Regions from separate parts of the Homo sapiens genome. Here region 1 is linked to region 2. Evidence: promoter capture Hi-C in human tissues and cell types (Jung and others, 2019). All regions are on one chromosome and are shown on one strand. Each heading gives the region's core, a stretch centred on a gene start or on the middle of the fragment in contact. The rest is flanking DNA. Distances are from core to core; before and after follow the strand shown. Region 1 overlaps POGLUT1 (protein O-glucosyltransferase 1). Region 2 holds the start of PLA1A (phospholipase A1 member A).

The links. Contacts are between HindIII fragments. The study calls those that stand out against the background at their distance.
Region 1: a contact is called between a fragment that was not itself captured here and the fragment with the promoter of PLA1A in region 2, in 2 of the 25 tissues and cell types used here (H1 embryonic stem cells and spleen).

Annotation. Positions count from the first base shown.
Region 1 is chr3:119,489,983-119,493,097 of GRCh38, forward strand. It overlaps POGLUT1 (protein O-glucosyltransferase 1), which reads left to right. Exons shown (of 11, transcript NM_152305.3): 9 at 569-736; 10 at 1,536-1,592; 11 at 2,300-3,115. The coding sequence ends at 2,456. Among named protein-coding and RNA genes, the nearest start is that of TIMMDC1, 7.0 kb to the right of the region's middle. The HindIII fragment of the contact is 5,887 bases long and covers 1-3,115 here.
Region 2 is chr3:119,595,937-119,599,293 of GRCh38, forward strand. It overlaps PLA1A (phospholipase A1 member A), which reads left to right and starts at 1,949. Exons shown (of 11, transcript NM_015900.4): 1 at 1,949-2,050. The coding sequence starts at 1,978. RefSeq lists an enhancer at 2,628-2,817. The HindIII fragment of the contact is 21,246 bases long and covers 1-3,357 here.

The DNA of each region.
Region 1 (3,115 bases), core at 159-2,658, 110 kb before region 2:
CCCATGAAACTGGTCCCTGGTGCCAAAGAGGTTGGGGACCGCTGCTCTATACTTTAAGAGAAGAGGGTGATGTCCAGGAAGCAGTGGAGACCTTCGACCAGATGGGGTACACTAGAGGAAAAACAAGGCTTTGGGAGGCCATGACTAGTTAGAGACATTAGGCCTAGAAAAGCTTGTGAAATTTTTTTCACTCGTTTTATTTTATGTTTACCATTGAACATTTATTTTCTCAGATATGTTCCAAATCTACAAGCTGTCATTTCCTTCTGAGCCCTGTATACACTCTACCCGGCACCCAGCTCCTGACCCTATCTAGTGCTGTCTGGAGAAAATATCCCCTATTTTTCCTCACCCTGCCATTCCCAGAACAACCTGTAGTCCTAGCCCTGGTAAAGTGGCTGATAGAAACCACTTAGGAACATATTAATGTGTCCTTGAAAACTCAAAGTGGAAAGAGAATGGAGAGGAATCATAAAAGGAAAGAAGGGGAGGGGAGAATAAGCATAAAAGGTCATATTTGTGGCAGCAGGCATATAGTATCAAATGTATTTTGTTCTTTTTTCCCCAGGTATCTGTTTAATTTTCGAGGCGTAGCTGCAAGTTTCCGGTTTAAACACCTCTTCCTGTGTGGCTCACTTGTTTTCCATGTTGGTGATGAGTGGCTAGAATTCTTCTATCCACAGCTGAAGCCATGGGTTCACTATATCCCAGTCAAAACAGATCTCTCCAATGTCCAGTAAGCAGTTATCCCCCAATGCAGAGTTTCTAAAGACCCTTCCAATCTGCTTTTAAAAATGCCTTAATGCCTTAAAACCAGTCATGTAAGACATTTAGTCCTACGATTTTTTTCCATTGAAAGCTTTTTTTCCTCTTGGTTTGCATATATAGTATTGCATTATTATCCAAGTAGGCTATAAGTGGAATTTAATTTGAAAAAGCGCTTTAATACTGGTTTCAAATGAAACGTTCAGACAAAATGAAGTTAAAAAGCTCTAATCTCTCCAAGACTAAAGATAGGGATATTCAATCTTATTATATTGTCAAAAGGATTTTCAGATACAGCATGAGAATTGACTCAAGTGAAGCTTCAGCAAATTTCCTTTCATGACAGGAGGAGCTAGGAAGAAGTATAGAGAAGGGCCAGAGTTATCTGAATATTGTTATCATGGTGATATCTGTGTATATATATTTTTTTTCTATATATAAATATATTTATATATAAATATGTAAAATAATATAAATATCTAATATAATATATAATATAAATATACAAAATATATGTAAATATATAAGGTAACTTCTGTATTTTCTCAAATATGTCCCAAATCTACAATAGGGTATCTTTAATCAGTGTGTGGGGGTTTTTTTTTGTTATTATTTTGTTCTTGAGAGAACCCTGATATCTTTGCTTGAAGGAAATAATCCACCATCCACATACCTAAAATTATCCATAGACCTCAATCTATATCGTCTTTCTGACTTAGTGCCAATGAAGTTGGTCTATATTTCACAGTCTAAAATTCTTTTCATTTTAGAGAGCTGTTACAATTTGTAAAAGCAAATGATGATGTAGCTCAAGAGATTGCTGAAAGGTGAGTTCTGTTCATTTTCCCTTTTCCACTTTACTTTTTGTCATCCCCATTATGCCCTAGCCAAAGTTATCTGAATATTGTTATCATGGTGACATCTGTATTTTATCCTCATTATATGGAGATAATTCAGAACTAAACCTGTCCTGGGGGAAAACATACACACATGTCTACATATGCTTGTTTTAAAGGAAAAAGATGGGCCGGGCGTGGTGGCTAACGCCTGTAATCCCAGCACTCTGGAAGGCCGAGGTGGGCGGATCACCTGAGGTCAGAAGTTCAAGACCAGCCTAGCCATGGTGAAACCCCATCTCTACTAGAAATACAAAAAAATTAGCCGGGTGTGGTGGTGCGTGCCTGTAATCCCAGCTACTCGGGAGGCTGAGGCAGGAGAATCACTTGAACCCGGGAGGCGGAGGTTGCAGTGAGCCAAGATCGCACCATTGCGCTCCAGCATGAGCAACAAGAGCGAAACTCCGTCTCAAAAAATAAATAAATAAATAAATAAATAAAGGAAAAAGATTGTTAAGTTGTATTGCTACATGCATGTATGTGGATATGATTGCCATAGGGTTGGTTCTTGAGGCTCAAATGAATTAATTTATATAAAATGCTGAATAATGCTTGGCACAAGGTGAGCACTCAAATGCAGACTGCTATTATCATTAAATTCTGTGCTTTAACATTTTCTTGTTAAATCTTGTCTCTAGGGGAAGCCAGTTTATTAGGAACCATTTGCAGATGGATGACATCACCTGTTACTGGGAGAACCTCTTGAGTGAATACTCTAAATTCCTGTCTTATAATGTAACGAGAAGGAAAGGTTATGATCAAATTATTCCCAAAATGTTGAAAACTGAACTATAGTAGTCATCATAGGACCATAGTCCTCTTTGTGGCAACAGATCTCAGATATCCTACGGTGAGAAGCTTACCATAAGCTTGGCACCTATACCTTGAATATCTGCTATCAAGCCAAATACCTGGTTTTCCTTATCATGCTGCACCCAGAGCAACTCTTGAGAAAGATTTAAAATGTGTCTAATACACTGATATGAAGCAGTTCAACTTTTTGGATGAATAAGGACCAGAAATCGTGAGATGTGGATTTTGAACCCAACTCTACCTTTCATTTTCTTAAGACCAATCACAGCTTGTGCCTCAGATCATCCACCTGTGTGAGTCCATCACTGTGAAATTGACTGTGTCCATGTGATGATGCCCTTTGTCCCATTATTTGGAGCAGAAAATTCGTCATTTGGAAGTAGTACAACTCATTGCTGGAATTGTGAAATTATTCAAGGCGTGATCTCTGTCACTTTATTTTAATGTAGGAAACCCTATGGGGTTTATGAAAAATACTTGGGGATCATTCTCTGAATGGTCTAAGGAAGCGGTAGCCATGCCATGCAATGATGTAGGAGTTCTCTTTTGTAAAACCATAAACTGTGTTACTCAGGAGGTTTCTATAATGCCACATAGAAAGAGGCCAATTGCATGAGTAATTATTGCAATTGGATTTCAGG
Region 2 (3,357 bases), core at 699-3,198:
GGCAGGGGGTTCTGGAAGGGACCACTCTGACCCCGCTTGGAGAGCTCTGTGCTAGATGTTGGATGTGAAAGAAAGTGAAAGTGCTCTCTCAATGTCAGCTGTATTCATGCCATGCACAAGGGCACCCTGGATTAACTATCTCTGGCCACGGTGTGGGTGGCTAGGAAAACAGCCCTCAGTTCTCCTGCTGTAGGGAAAATGATTGACTGATGGCTCCAGCTGCTGTCTTCTGAATCTACCTCTGTCTTTGTGCTGAGGCTGACCTCAGCTAATGACTAAGCAAGATGTGGCTGCTAATGCAGGCTCATTTCTACAAAACACATCTGCTGTCACAAAAGACTTTGGCCTGAGGAGTCCCCATTGGCCTGGTCAGAATATTCTAGAAACTGTGCTGCAGCCTGAGACTCTTCCTATGTAATCCTCTCTTTCCTGCCCATTCTCTTTCACAGGTATCAGATGTTCACCACCATCTAAAGGCGCTTCCTGGCTTCTCTAGTACCTCTTATTCTTTACAGGTGTTAGCTCGATAAATCTCTTGCATATCTTGTCTTACCTTGGCATCTTCTTCTCCGAGGACCTGAACTCATACACTTGGCTTGGTCTCTAATATCAAGACAGCTTTCAGTAGTGACCTCTGCTGTGCACTACTTATTGCCACACCCCTTCCTGGTTGCAGCAGCACTTGAGCAGTGAGATCATGTGCACAAGGGGATGTAAGGGCTAGCCCCTCCAAAATAATTGTATCCTGCGTTCAGCCATGATGACATGGTCCCAGAGCCTCTTCAGGAGTTGTTGCTGTAGAGTATCGTTGCTCAGAGCATGGATTCTGGGGCTGGCTCATCCCGCTTTAAATCCCAGCTCTGCATGACCTCAGGCAAATGACTTAAATTCTCTGTGCCCTACCAGCTGTGTAAAACACAAATGTTTGTATTTAATACAAATTACTTCTATCACAGAGAAGTAATTTGTACTTATCTGTGCTTACTAACTGTGTAATTGTCACAGTTAAGTAATTTGTATACAATTATAATACAAATAAGTAATTTGTTGTACAAATTACTTAACTTCTCTGTGATAATACTCACCTCAGAGAGTTATTGTTTGGAAAAGATGATCCTGGCCCTGCCAGTGGGCTGTCTACCTCACAGCAATGTGTTATGATTTAGGGAGTGGGGGGCAAGTGCCCTGCCCTCTGCCTCTGCCCCATTGACTTGCCTAGAAATAGCTCTTTGTGGTTTCTGCCACTCTTTGGGGTGGAGAGGCCATATGGTGCTGGAACCATCTTGGTTCCAGGCCCGGCTCTGCCACTTCCACCAACGGGATCTCTACAGGTCATTTTCTTTTTCTAATATGCAGTTTCTTTGTGAATTCAGGAAGTTGAACATCTCCAAAGTTGGACTTGACTCCTAGCCCCAAGATTCTACAAAATGATAGTACTCTCCAGAGGAAACTTTTTCTTCCCTTCTTCCCTTTAAATGGACACTTAATATATAGTATTATCTCAGTCTTGTGCTAGGCACTGGGTATTCAAAAATGAAAAGAGAAAGCCTTTGCTCTCAAGTCACTCAGAATCTTCTAGGGAGACACACATGTCCACAGATAATTCCAACACAATGAGGGGTTTCTGGCCACCCAGAGATGCAGGACTTCTGCCTTGGTTATTACTAACATCCTATCACGGGAAGTGGGAGAGGTGCAGGAAATAGTTTCCTGATCATGTTTGGCTCAAAGAGGGACAGTGTGTTTCAATGCACTCTGGTTAACAAAAAAGAAAGTGTATTTATTTTCATTGAGAAGAAGAAACCGAAAACTCTGGCATTTAAATAAATAAAGAAGAATTTATTTTTCCTTTTCAGGTCATGAGGCTAGTTAATGATTAGTGAAATCCACGTGGGTGTTTTCTGAGAGGCTGGGTTATATGATCTCTTTGGCTTTAGGGAATTACTCCATACCAGCTCTGAGATTTCCAGCTCAGCGATGCCCCCAGGTCCCTGGGAGAGCTGCTTCTGGGTGGGGGGCCTCATTTTGTGGCTCAGCGTTGGAAGTTCAGGTAAGCCAGGGCTCAGGCCTTGGGAGGAACTTATTTCAGTCAGTGATCATATTTCTCCAACTACTTATGCAGTACTAACTTTTGGAAGATCCCCTAAAAGCCTTTTGCCTCTTCTGAGGTGAATTTAAAACAGTAGGGGAAAAAAACCCCTTTTATCATAATCGGAATGATGGTAAACAGGTCACAAAACCTGAACTTTCCCTGGTTATCCGACTCATTTTTCTAAAGCCCACATAAAAAAACCCTTTCTCACCTTGCACAAGCCAGGACCAACTGTAAGAAAATAAAATTTGGTTAATTCTAAGATATTCATTTTTCACCCCATAAATATCCACCATTCCAAGATATATTTAATTTTAAAATTTAGGTTTTCCAAACTAATAATGATTTTGTCACTGAGATTGTTAGATGTCCTTTCTAATCCAGCAACCTAACTCAAGTGGTTTGTCATCCTGGCTGGGTGATGGGAACTAGTCCCTGCTAACCTCAGATGCCCCTGGGAAAACTTCCCTCAGATGCCAATTTGCATTTACCTTTCCCCCAGTAAAGAACTGACCCACTGATCCCTCTTGCCTAACAGAAAATTAACCTGCTCTACTTTGGGTTCTCAGAAGTTCTCAGAAGACTCCTTCTCACTATGGTGAGGTCACCCTTAGAAAAATCCCCTCCCTCTACTCACAATAGCAGGCTGCTTTTCTGTCTTCTCCGCTGGACATTTAATTCTCATTCCCTGGCTCTAGAATATGTCATTGCTTCTGCCTGGGGTTGCTCACATCACCTTTGGATTGATTTCTGTTCTTTGCATCTTTCAAGGGGGCTTCTGTATTCCTATCTCCCTTGTACTCATTCTTTTTCTGCTCAGCACCCCTCCCTGCTACAAAGTTCCACTGGGTGACTGCATGCTCTCCTTGCACTCATGGGTGGTTTTTCAGAGGTGCTGTTGAGCTCTGTATGTGCTTTCTCCTACCTCAATTAGTTGTCCCTAAAAGGTGAGGATTTGAGGCTTCTGTCTCTTTTAGCATAGTTAGTGCTGTGCTCTGTATAGAGCAGATGTCCAGTGAATATTGCAGACATTGATGCTTAGAGGAGGCAATGGGCTGAGCTGATGGGGAATAGGCTCTGTCTGGGTCGGGCTAACCCAGACTGGAATCCTGGCTCTGTTTCTTTGTAGCTATGTGACCTTGAGGAAGTGGCTTTCTTTACCTGTAGCTAGAGATGATCCTTACCAGATAGGAATGCTGTAAGGACTGAATGGGATCATCTGTGCACAGGGCCTGACTTTTGCAGTTGCTTATTCCTTTGTGATT